2 separate regions of the Homo sapiens genome follow, and region 1 is linked to region 2. The links are contacts of gene promoters, found by promoter capture Hi-C in blood cells and fetal thymus (Javierre and others, 2016). All regions are on one chromosome and are shown on one strand. Each heading gives the region's core, a stretch centred on a gene start or on the middle of the fragment in contact. The rest is flanking DNA. Distances are from core to core; before and after follow the strand shown.

What was found. The method cuts DNA at HindIII sites, captures the fragments that hold promoters and counts their contacts. A CHiCAGO score of 5 or more calls a contact.
Region 1: a contact is called between a fragment that was not itself captured here and the fragment with the promoter of LINC01277 in region 2, in 1 of 17 cell types (fetal thymus). The highest score is 6.1, in fetal thymus.

Annotation. Positions count from the first base shown.
Region 1 is chr6:142,495,631-142,501,609 of GRCh38, reverse strand. No RefSeq gene overlaps it. Among named protein-coding and RNA genes, the nearest start is that of ADGRG6, 200 kb to the right of the region's middle. The HindIII fragment of the contact is 2,785 bases long and covers 1,031-3,815 here.
Region 2 is chr6:143,033,234-143,039,682 of GRCh38, reverse strand. LINC01277 (long intergenic non-protein coding RNA 1277) reads left to right here and starts at 2,101. Exons shown (of 3, transcript NR_038987.1): 1 at 2,101-2,694. RefSeq lists an enhancer at 4,556-4,725. The HindIII fragment of the contact is 5,129 bases long and covers 1-4,930 here.

The sequences.
Region 1 (5,979 bases), core at 1,174-3,673, 540 kb after region 2:
ATTGAAATTAATGAATAAAATAATATGCATATTTAATTATGTGATGTATATTCATGATACACATTTACATTAAAATATTGTTTACCAATCATATGTTTAATATTTATTTGGGGAAAAATATAGAATTTGTGCATAGAAAAATTTCCTGGAAGGATATATATCAAAGTGTCACGTAATTTCCTCTATGTGTTGGAATCATAGGTGGATTTTGGTCTTATTTTTTTTCTTTTCTTTTTTCACTTGTCTAAATTTTCTAGCTTTCTGCAATGAATATATATCACTTTTGATTTCAGAAGTGTTATTATTAATTGAGGAAAAGGACCTACCGCGTATTTCAAAAACTCCTACAGTCACCATCATACCTGCATGGCCCATAGTTCTCCATCAATAAAGTCCTGAACAGAAAACACTTGCCTCCACCTCTCACAGACAAAAAACAGTTAACCTCAGTGTTAAATCTGTTCCGAAGTAAAGTGCTGTTCATACAGTGTTAGCATTCATCTGGAAGAAGTGTAACGGTGTGGCAAACATTTTTTATTTTCCAGTCCAGACCAGGAGATTTACAGGTGGTCTGGGTATGTCAGGAGTAAATATGCATGATCAATGGATGTTCCGCCTCTCCTGAAAAATGCTCTGGCGGCAGTGTGGCTTGTTTCTTCAGGTGGTAAATTGTTGTTCATTTATCATCTCAGGATATTTCATTTTCTCCAAAGCAAGCATGATATTTAAAAAGTAGACTTCAGTTTTCCAAATGAGGGAAGGGAATGTTTAAACTGGTGAATGCCTTGTGTCTTTAATATAGAATCTATAGCATCTTCAAAAGGCCATTGAAGGAGTGTGACATAGCTGGTGTTAGTGCTTCCTGGTGTGGCTGTTGATAGGTGAAAATAACATTTTAAATTTTATGTCCTTAATGCCCTCCATCTTAGTTATCCTTAATTTCCACTGTAATCTTCTCCAGAATTAGCCTCCAATAGAACGCAAGCTTCCTCTCCAAATATAGCCTTCACCAGCACGAAAATAGCAAGCTTTTCTTCCCCTCTATTTTTTCTTGGTCACAGTCAGAGAGGAGAGAATTCAGTAAAATACTTCCCTGTGTGATGCATGTTAAGCATAATTTGAATCCCTTTGGGAAAATAACAACTCATTCTAGTTGTGTGGTTGCCAGGGGCTTGAATTATTAAGCTGTTATGTGGCCAGTGTTCCTTGAGCCCTAGAATGGATTTTGCTTAAGCTGTGTGGACTCCTCTCCCGGCCAGGTGATGGGAAGGAGGCTGTCAATGTGTTTCGTGCTGTATGTTTTCATCAGTATTAGTGCTGAGGAGAATGCCAATATTTGTGAAATAAAGATATGCAATCAGGAAAGAATCAGCAGAAAAAATGAGTTTTAAAAATAGAACAAGAGAAAGACAAGTAGCTGCACATTCATGGGGGAACACAGAATTATAAATATTTGGGAGTATGTGTCAGAGAGAAAAAGATAGAGTAGAACAATATTACTAGATTAACTCAGGTGTTAGATGCCCAGCTAATTCAGAAATGTCAGCCCTAGTCAAAGGGAAGTAGATGCAAACAAAAGATTTACTGAGCTTCTTCAACATAGCAAGTTGAGAGCACAGGAGAGCTATGAGACTTCATGTGTAATAAATGTTCAGATATGGCATCTTTTTCCACCTTTTAAAGGGAGGAATTTAGATGGAAGGTAGCAGAGAACATATGAATGAGGAAATGTAGTTTAATGGAAGGGACAAGGCTTTGGAGGAAGAAAGATTTGAGAGTTGCTTCCTAACTGCTACGTGGGGCAAGAAACCTACCATCTTTTATCCTGGGTCTTTGCTTTCTTTTATTTAAAATAGGCATTGTTAGCCCCTGTCTCTTTGGAGTCTAATTATGTCTGAAACTAAATAGTACAATGCCGGACATATAATTGATGCTTAACAAATAATACTTATAATTATTTCCAAAAATATTTGAACTTTACGTAGAAATTCCCTTGAAATGCTCAAGTACTGTGGCACTGCGGTACAACATAATGTCTCTCCATGATTGATTAGTTTAGCCAAAGTTCTTCACTCTTTATATGAATAAACCAAGGTAATGCATAGCTTAATTAATAAATAATATATTCTCTTAACAAGCATTATGGTCTATTGTTAAATCTTTTAAATATATAAATATATTGTAAATGTATTTTGCTTTTGTTATATAAATGTAGGAACTTGACAGAGACCGGAATGGAGAAATAGACAAGAATCCACAATGGAGGGCAGATGGAATACAGTCATTGTCTTAGGCTCTTGGGTCTAATAGATCTGGTCTGAAAGATTGGCTCCTTCTGTTTAAAGTTGTGTGACTCTGAGCAACTTGTTTAAATTCTACAAGCATCAGTTTCCTCAACTATATAAATGAACATAGTAAATATTAACTAGTTGTTTGCAATTAAGGCCTAAAACAATGAGTGATGTGGAAGGTACTGGGTCCTTGCCTTAGGTGGTACAGAGTTGTGGTCCATGATAAGAACTTAGAGGGTCAGAAATGAGAACTAAAAGCAGGTACTATATTTGCAGGTATGAATTGCCTCTCTCTGAGTCTTGAGAAGGTGTTTAGAGCTCATTTAATATTAAATAGCTACCTTTGAGACTTGTCTCTTAAGGTACTATTCAGCAGAGATGATGAATGAAGCCATATGTTGCCCCTGTAAAGCATGGATCATCACAGAGTTCTCTCCAGGGATGTGTGTATATTGATACCAGTGGGAAAGTAATATGTACTATAGGAGAGTTATACATAAAGTGTCATGAGAATTTAAAAGAAGATTGTTTCCATTTGGAGGGAATAGAAATGTGATTTTAAAAACAATTCCCTCATTCAGTTTTTTAAAACTCAATAACTATATCTTTAGCTGGGGCCTCTAAGCCACAAACAAGCTCTTGTGTTCCAATTCAATCAGGGTGCTTTTGGATACAAATTGGAACTGTGTCATGGTGTCATGCACAGCAGCATAAACTAATATCCAGTTTCTTTTTAATGTATGGTAAAATATTAGTTTGTAACTTTGAGTGGAAGTTTCAATATGTAATGAAATGCACTGATAGAATGGATCATTCAGAAATTTTGGTTCTAATTGAGTTATCTCTTGTATGACTGGTCTTAGAGAAGAATAAGATAACTGAACTAGAACATCCAAAACTGTGACAAGGGCCATCAACTAAAGATTAAGCCATATTAACAATTATTGCACAGAACTGTTCATTGGGCATCACTCTTGTCTATACTCATTTACCTGGAGAGCAAGTTGTCCTCAAAGACTCAAAAACCACTTTCCTGCATAATGTGGCATATAGTCTGTAGAAAAAAGAAGTATAACCTTAATTGTAAATGGATTCACTACTCTCAGAGAAAATATTCTTTGAGTGAGGATCCAAATAGCAAATTTTCCTCTCCTTAGCAAAACTAAACAATGAAAGTAAGTATTTTTCATAAATTCTATATTGTCTATGACTAATGGATTCTCCAATGCAACCAGCCGTATTAACATATCTGTCATCTCTGTGACACCTTAGCTTTTCATAAAATACATAAAATTTTGGTTTGACCATTTGAAGTCTCCATTTTTTAGATTGCTTGTTTTTAAACTTTAGTGATAAAAAGACTCAGCTTATTACAGTTTCCCTGTCTCCTTTTCCAGATATTCTGCTTCAGTGAGCCTTGGGTGGGACCCAGGAGTCAGTTTACATTAAAATCTCCCCAAGTCATTCTGATGCCAGTGGTCCACAGATCACACTTGAGAAATCCTGATCTAGATTTACTAAGCTTGATATAATGTCCTCCTTTAATCAAAGGTCTAGGAAGCATTTTCTTCGTTCAGTTTCTAGAACACACTTTGCTCCCATTTTCATCCTTGCTTAAAAGTGCCACTCATTTCTGGAACAAATCTAGGCCATGCTGTGAACAGGAGAAAAAATATTCTTTCTGTGAATACCTTGCAAAATGCTCACAGCTAGTCATTTTTTATGCAGGTGTGTGCACCCTAAGAATTACACAAGGTGATCCAGTAAGGTATGGAAAAAGTATTAGGTTTTCTATTTATACTTATTTTTACCTACAAGGAAAAAGTAATCTTCACTGATTTTAATGTATCTAGACAATAGTATATATGCATTGTTTCTAAGGAAATAAATATATATAGAGAGGCATGCATACTCAAACACTTTCTACAAGTAGAAATGAGTAATGAAGAGGTTGGAAGCCAACTGGTCTAATCAATAAAGTCCTCATTTTCCTCAACACTGCACTGTGTATTATTGCCTTGTACCATTGCTTGCAAGTAAAGTATTTATGTCTTCTATCAGCAATTAGAATATAGACCAGAAGACAAGAACTGTTTAGGCAAGACCTTCTCCCCATGCCCAGCACTTAGGCCAGAGTTATTCAATTAGTAGGCATTAATCTTTGTTTGGAGATTTACTGACTTGTCTCATGTCTATCAGCCTATTAATTCTCGGTATTTAACATGATTGGTAGAACTGCTGACTTTCCTTTATCACCTTTTTGTCTTCTCAAGTTCTGTCAGTCAGAACTACTCTTCACTCACATTTTCTTCTGATGAGTATATGAATCTTCTCTGTGCCTCAGCTTCAACATTACCTGTTCTATGGTGGTGCTTTTCTTCTTTCCCAGCCTCATTCAGTCCCATCTGTTTGCTGGCTTTCCAGAGTAACTTGTATATGGTTCTATCGTGGCATTTCCCATGCTATGAATAAACTTTCTTCTGGAATCTGAGCTTAACAAGGGCAAGATGTATGTCTTATGTCTACAACATGCAAGACATTTATATTGGTTGAATGACTGAATAAGTAGCAAAGGAACAACAAAAAAGTGCCATCATCCTTTGTCTATAGAGGTATAAAAAACCTTAGAAATATGTTGACAATTCTAAAGCGTATTTAGCATTATCTAATCACCTTTTAAAGAGATTTTTTAAAGCATCTTTCATTTCAATGTGAGAATATGAAATTGCTGTGCTAGGAGCTTAAAAATGTTAAGCAATGCTTTAGCTCAGTTTCCCTTCAAAGGTAGCAATTTGTAAACAAGGACAACTGAGAAATGCTTTGAAGAATCCACAAGTACTCTAGGCATCTTACCTGATGGTTTAAACATAAGATGCCTATATCTAAATCAGTACGCTTCAGTTACAATGTCCATCTTCACTTCATATTTGAAATTAAAACGAGAACATAGTGCAGAAGAAGGAGAAATATGAAGTCACAACTATTTTTTTTCTCCAACCTAGATGTTAGAAATTCAAATGTTAATAAGACAGAAGGTTCTCTATCCCCAAGGAGTTTCTTATCTGGGGAGATAGGAAATCAAGAAGTAAACAGATGAATAAACATGATCATTTCAAACATGAAAAAAGACATGAAAGAAATCGGGTGATTTGAGAGACAGCAACTGTTGGGCATTGGGGTGGGGAAAGAACAGGAGAAAACAGGAACAGGAGAAAAATATTCTTTCTGTGAATATCTTTCTAAATGCTCGAAGCTAGTCATCTTACAAAATTGGCCTGGCCAACATGGTGAAATCTCGTCTCTACTAAAAATACAAAAATTAGTAGCGTGTGATGGCAAAAGCCTGTAATTCCAGCTACTCAGGAGGCCGAGGCATGACAATCACTTGAACCCGGGAGGCAGAGGTTGCAGTGAGTCAAGATCGAGCCACTGCTCTCTGGCCTGGGTGACAGTGAGACCCTGTCAAAACAACAACAACAACAACAACAACAACAACAAACATATAGTATTCTATCTATACAAATTTCAACAATAAGCAAAACTAACCTATATTGACAGGAAGCAGAATAGTATTTTCTTCCAGTGGGAATGGGGCTGGAAAGTTTTCATTGGGAAGGAACACAAGGATGTTTTCTGACATTATGCAAATGTTCTGTACATTGATCTGGTATATAAAAATGTAAATATC
Region 2 (6,449 bases), core at 852-3,351:
AGGCTATTCTACCTGCCCAACAGAAGAAAAAGGGAACACTTTCGGTGGAAGGCAATATCATCTGGACCCTTTATGGTTTTATTATACATAATGTCTAACATTTTTTAAATTACTAGATGTGGAAGATCAAGTTCATTTGCCCAATAATCAAGAGAAAAAAACACACACAATAGAAACACAATTATAGATGATCAAGATATTGTAATCAGCAAATGAGAATTTACAAATAATTTTTATGAATATGTTTAAGAAAATAAAGTGCAAAATTGATGAGGAAATGGACAATTTTCAGTAAAACTAACCTATAAAAAAGATTTCTTTAGGCATTCTAAATTTGAAAAAATATACTATCGTCAGTTAAGAAATCAATATATGGAGAAAACTGCAGTGGAAAGGATCAGTAGAGATAGCAGTGTGTCCAACAGCCAAGAAAGTAGGGTGGCGGGCATACAGATAGTGATGTGCATAGGGGCAAAAGAAGTCATAATGGGAAAGCCATGTGGAGGCAGCAGAGTGCCTGGTGTCCAAGGAAGCATGTATAGGGGGTACATATGGTGGCAGTTGTATGCTCAGCAGAAGAAGCACCAGGGAGGTGAAGGTAAGAGTAAGTTGGGGTGCACAGTTAACAATGTGTCTAACAGCCAGAAGGTGGAGACAGGGGCATGGAGGCAGTGGCATATCAAACAGACCAGGGTTTGGTGGGGAGAAGAGTTCAAAAGTGACAACTTGCCTGGAGATGAAATCAGGAGTGATGAGTTGGCCATGGCAGTACCTAGCATTTTTAGGAAATTAATTATGTAAAGGAGGATTGATCAAGAAAGTATCTATATTGAAGCTAATGGAAGCTGGATTTCTCTCTGTGGGAAAACAAATTTACAAATATGAAAAGGGGAAGCGAAAAAAATAACTCATTGCTATTGTTATGGTAAGAAGGAAGAAGGAAGGAAGGAAAGAGCAAAAGGAAGGAAAGAAGGAAAGAGTGAAAGGGAAGGGAGGAAAGAAACAAAAAAAATTATCAATGCAAGTGAATATGTCTGTGTACATATCCATGAATACATACATATATTTCAAAATTCTGACCATGGAGAGGACCTAGGTGCAATGACACCCCAGTAGCAATTAATAACAAGTATGTAGGTTCCAATTTCCATAACAAACAACAAGGACTCCTTGTAAAAGTGGATGATTCAAGGATGGAGGTAGAGAAATTTCAAGATAAGCCTGGAACGTTGGATAATAATGAACTGTGGTTTGAATGCTGGTATTTATCGCTGTCCATTTTCTGATTTGAAAGGCTTGGCAATTACTCTGTAGGAGAGTGTCTTTGGGAGAAGTAGTAATAGGAATATTTACAGATGATAGGACATAAAGGTTTCAACTTGCTTAACTTGCTCTCAAAATATTCAAAAAAGGTATCATATCCTTGAAAATACACATCTATCTATCTATCTATCTATCTATCTATCTATCTATCTATCTATCATCTTTACAAAAAGAGATGGAGAAAATATGAAACTATTAACTGAGGAATCTGGATGAAGAGAATGTGGGAGTTCATTCTACTGTTCTTGCAACTTTTCTGATAAAAATATTTCAAAGTAAATTATTTCAAAATTAAATTTAAAAACTCAATATATGAGTTTAACAATAGGTTGGACACTATTGAATACAAGACTTGTGAACTGGAAACATATCAATGAAAAATATACAAAGTGAAGCATGGAAGAAAAAAAGAAAGAGAAAAAATAAGAAACAAATGTAAGAGACATACAGGACAAGTATGAAAGGTCTACCATGTAAAACTGAAGTTTCAGAGGGCAAGGAGAAAGAAATAGAGCAGAAGCAATATTCAAAGGGATAATGGTTGGGAATTTTCTAAAGCAGATAAAATACATTTAACCCACTGGTTAAGAAGCTCAGCAAACCCTCAAGCAGGATAAGTATAGAGAAAACCACAATTATGCAACTCACAATAAAACTGCTGAACCAAAGACAGAGAAGATGGAAAAACCAGCCAGAAGAAAAAAGACACATTATCTACAAAAGAGCAACAATGAGACTGGCAGCTGTCTCTAATAGCAACAATAGAAGCCAGAAGATAATGGAATGCTATCTCTAGAGTACTGAAAGAAACTAAAGGCCAACGTGTGAAAAACAATCTTCAGAAATGAACGTTAAATGATGACATTTTCAAACAAACAAGCAACAAAAAGAAGCAAAAAGTAAACAAAAAACAAAAATTCACATAATTTATTGCTAGGAGTTTTACACTGAAATGCTGAAGGGATTTCTACTAGCAAAAGTAAAAATGATCTCATTTGAAAAGATGGAAATTCAAGGAGGGAATGAAGAATACTGGATGGGTAAATGTGTTGGTAACTGTAAATGAATACTGACTACACAAAATTATGTTGAATAACTGAAAGATGAAAACACAATCACTTGAAGGAGAAATGTATGGTCAAACTGCATGCAGGAAAAACTTCTATAAAAGAGTTACTTCATGCTCTGGGTTGGCAGATACAATGAGCAGGAGTGCATCAGAAGTAATCAAGAAGGTGATTAGTTGGTGTACTTCAGCAGGAGCAACCAGATGAATTGGCTTCTCTATATCCCCGTATTAGCCACAAGCTAGGCAGCAGCCTGCAGGTGGGAGCAATGCCTATGCATGTATGGATCAGTGTGCTACATACAGTAAGTACAGGATGGTACCAGTTCCTGGTGAGAGGACACAGATGAATAGAAAAGAGACTGAAATGATATACAATAAGCCAGTAACTAATGTTGCCACTAGAGATGGGGTTAGAGGAAATAGTTTTGTCTACATTATATAAATCTTTCACAATAAAAATGTATTCATGTGCTACTTGTATAATTAGAAATATATTTGAAAATGAATAATTTTGTATAGGAAATATATGTTTGACTCCATGCAATAAATACTGACATCAGCATCAAAATAAAGCATTTCTAAAAATCACCTGGAAATAAAAATAGTCTTCTAGATAACTCTTGTATCAAAGAGGAAAAAAGAATCCTGATAACATAATATAATCTTGTGAATTGTAACCAAATCTTACCTTATGAAAAATTTTGTTTAAAATAACATAAATGTATAACTCAGGAAATTAAAAAGAAGAAAATAAATCAAAAGAAAGTAAAAGAATGTAAAAGCAATGACTTAAACATGAGAAAGCCAAACATTACAATTTATTGATAAAAACAGTGATCTTGTATTTGAAAAGTTATAAAAACAAAACAAACCAATCAATCCCTAGCAAGTCTAGCCAAAGGAAACCTAAGAGAACACAAATACAATATTAGAAAACAGAAAAGGTATAACCAAAGGAAATTATAATTTTTAAATAAAATTTTTGTACTTTTCTGAGTATAAAATTTTAAAATAGATATTTTTAAGGAAACTACAAACAACCAATTTGCCTGAATAAAATATAGGAAGCCAAAATAGATCAATATCCATAGAAAAGTTGAAACTTTTGTAAAAAAAATACTGTAAAATGGCTCTGGGCCATGTTCATTTTCTCAGAAATTTTTACCAAATACTGACGAATAGTTAAGTTCTGTAGTACTTAATTGTTACAAAGCTATAGAAATCATAACTTTGATACAATAAACCTGATAAATATGTCACAAAACCATGGGCCAATCTATCTAATAAGCACAAATAAAAAGTCTGTTATGAAATATCAAATCCAACAGTATACTAAAAGAGCAATACACTTTACCTGATCAAATTTATTCAAGAGTACAAAAATTGTTCAAATTTAGGAAATATGCTAATGTAATCTTGGTAGATGCTAAAGGACATTTTATAAATGTTAACGTTACTTTTGATTAAAATTCCTGGTGTGCCAAGGGAAAAGCAGACTTTCTTAACTTGGTAACAAGTATTTTTTAGAAATCCAAAGCCAATATAATACTTAATAATGAAATACCAAAAATAATCACATTAAAGTGATAAATAAGAGGACATGGGAGCACAAGAAGAAAAACCAGGGACTCTTCCAAGATGGCCTAGTAGGAACTCCGGTCTGCAGCTCCCAGTGAGATCGATGCAGAAGATGGGTGATTTCTTCATTTCCAACTGAGGTATCTGGTTCATCTCATTGAGACTGGTTGGACAGTGGGTGCATCCCACAGAGGGCTAGCCGAAGGAGGGTGGGGCGTCGCCTCACCTGGGAAGCACAAGGTGTCAGGGGATTTCCCTTCCCTAGCCAAGGGAAGCCATGAGAGACTGTGCCAGGAGGAACAGTACGCTTCTGCCCAAATACTGCGCTTTTCCCATGGTCTTCACAACTGGCAGACCAGGAGATTCCCTCCAGTGGCTCGCTCAGTGGGTCCCATGCCCATGGAGTCCAGCAAGCTAAGATCCATTGGCTTGAAATTCTCACTGCAAGGGCAGCAGTCTGAAATTGACCTGGGACGCTGGAGTTTGGCAGGGGGAGGGGCATCCACCATTGCTGAGGCTTGAGTAGGTGGTTTTATGCTCATAGAGTAAACAAAGCTGTCGGGAAACTGGAACTGGGCGGAGCCCACTGAAGCTCAGCAAGGCTGACTGCCTCTCTAGATTTCACCTCTGTGGGCACGGCATATCTGAACAAAAGGCAGCAGCCCCAGTCAGGGAGTTACAGATAAAACCCTCGTCCCTCTGGGACAGAGCACGTGGGGGAAGGGGCAACTGTGGGCACAGCTTCTCCAGACTTAAATGTCCCTGGCTGACACCTCTGAAAAGAGCAGTGGCTCACCCAGCATGGTGGTCGAGCTCTGATAATGGATGGACTGCCTCCTTAAGTGGGTCCCTGACCCTCATGTAGCCTGCCTGGGAGACACTTCCCAGTAGGGGCTGAGAGACACCTCATTAAGGAGAGCTCTTGCTGGCATCTGGTGGGTGCCCCTCTGGGACAAAGCTTCCAGAGGAAGGATCAGGCAGCAATATTTGCTGTTCTGCAGCCTCCACTGGTGATACCCAGGCGAACAGGGTCTGGAGTGGACCTCCAGCAAACTCCAACAGATCTGAAACTGAGGGACCTGACTGTTAGAAGGAAAACCAAGAAACAGAAAGGAATAGCATCAACATCAACAAAAAGGACATCCACACCAAAACCAACATCAAGACCAAAGGTAGATAAAAGACCAAAGGTAGATAAAACCACAAAGATGGGGAGAAACCAGAGCAGAAAGGCTAAAAATTCCAAGAACCAGAAAGCCTCTTCTCCTCCAAAGGATCACAACTCCTCGCCAGTAAGGGAACAAAACTGGACGGAGAATGAGTTTGATGCATTGACAGAAGTAGGGTTCAGAAGGTGGGTAATAACAAACTTCTCCGAGCGAAAGGAGCATGTTCTGACCCATTGCAAGGAAGCTAAGAACCTTGAAAAAAGGTTAGAGGCATGGCTAACTAGAATAAGAATAACTAGTGTAGAGAAAAACATAAATTACCTGAGGGAGCTGAAAAAAACAGCACGAGAACTTCATGAAGCATACACAAGCTTCAATAGCTGATTAGATCAAATGGAAGAAAGGATATCAGTGATTGAAGATCAAATTAATGAAATAAAGTGAGAAGACAAGATTAGAGAAAAAAGAATGAAAAGAAATGAATAAAGCCCCCAAGAAATATGGGACTATGTGAAAAGACCAAATCTACATTTGATTGGTGTACCGGAAAGTGACGGGGAGAATGGAACCAAGTTAGAAAACACTCTTCAGGATATTATCTAGGAAAACTTTCCCAACCTAGCAAGACAGGCCAAGATTCAAATTCAGGAAATACAAAGAATACCACAAAGATATTCCTTGAGAAAAGCAACCCCAAGTCATATAATCATCAGATTCACCAAGGTTGAAATGAAGGAAAAAATGTTAAGGGCAGCCAAAGAGAAAGGTTAGGTTACCCACAAAGGGAAGCCCATCAGACTAACAGTGGATCTCTTGGCAGACACCCTACAAGCCAGAAGAGAGTGGGGGCCAATATTCAACATTCTTAAAGGAAAGAATTTTCAGCGCAGAATTTCATATCCAGCCAAACTAAGCTTCACAAGGGAAGGAGAAATAAAATCCTTTATAGACAAGCAAATGCTGAGAGATTTTGTCACCACCAGGCCTGCCTTACAAGAGCTCCTGAAGGAAGCACTAAATGTGGAAAGGAACAACGGGTACCAGCCACTGCAAAAACATGCCAAATAGTGAAGTCCACTGATGCTATGAAGAAACTGCATGAACGAACGGGCAAAATAACCAGCTAGCATCATAATGACAGGATCAAATTCACACATAATAATATTGACCTTAAATGTAAATGTGCTAAATGCCCCAATTAAAAGACACAGACTGGCAAATTGGATAAAGAGTCAAGACCCATCAGTGTGCTGTATTCAGGAGACCCATCTCGTGTGCAAAGACACAAATAGGCTCAAAATAAAGGGATG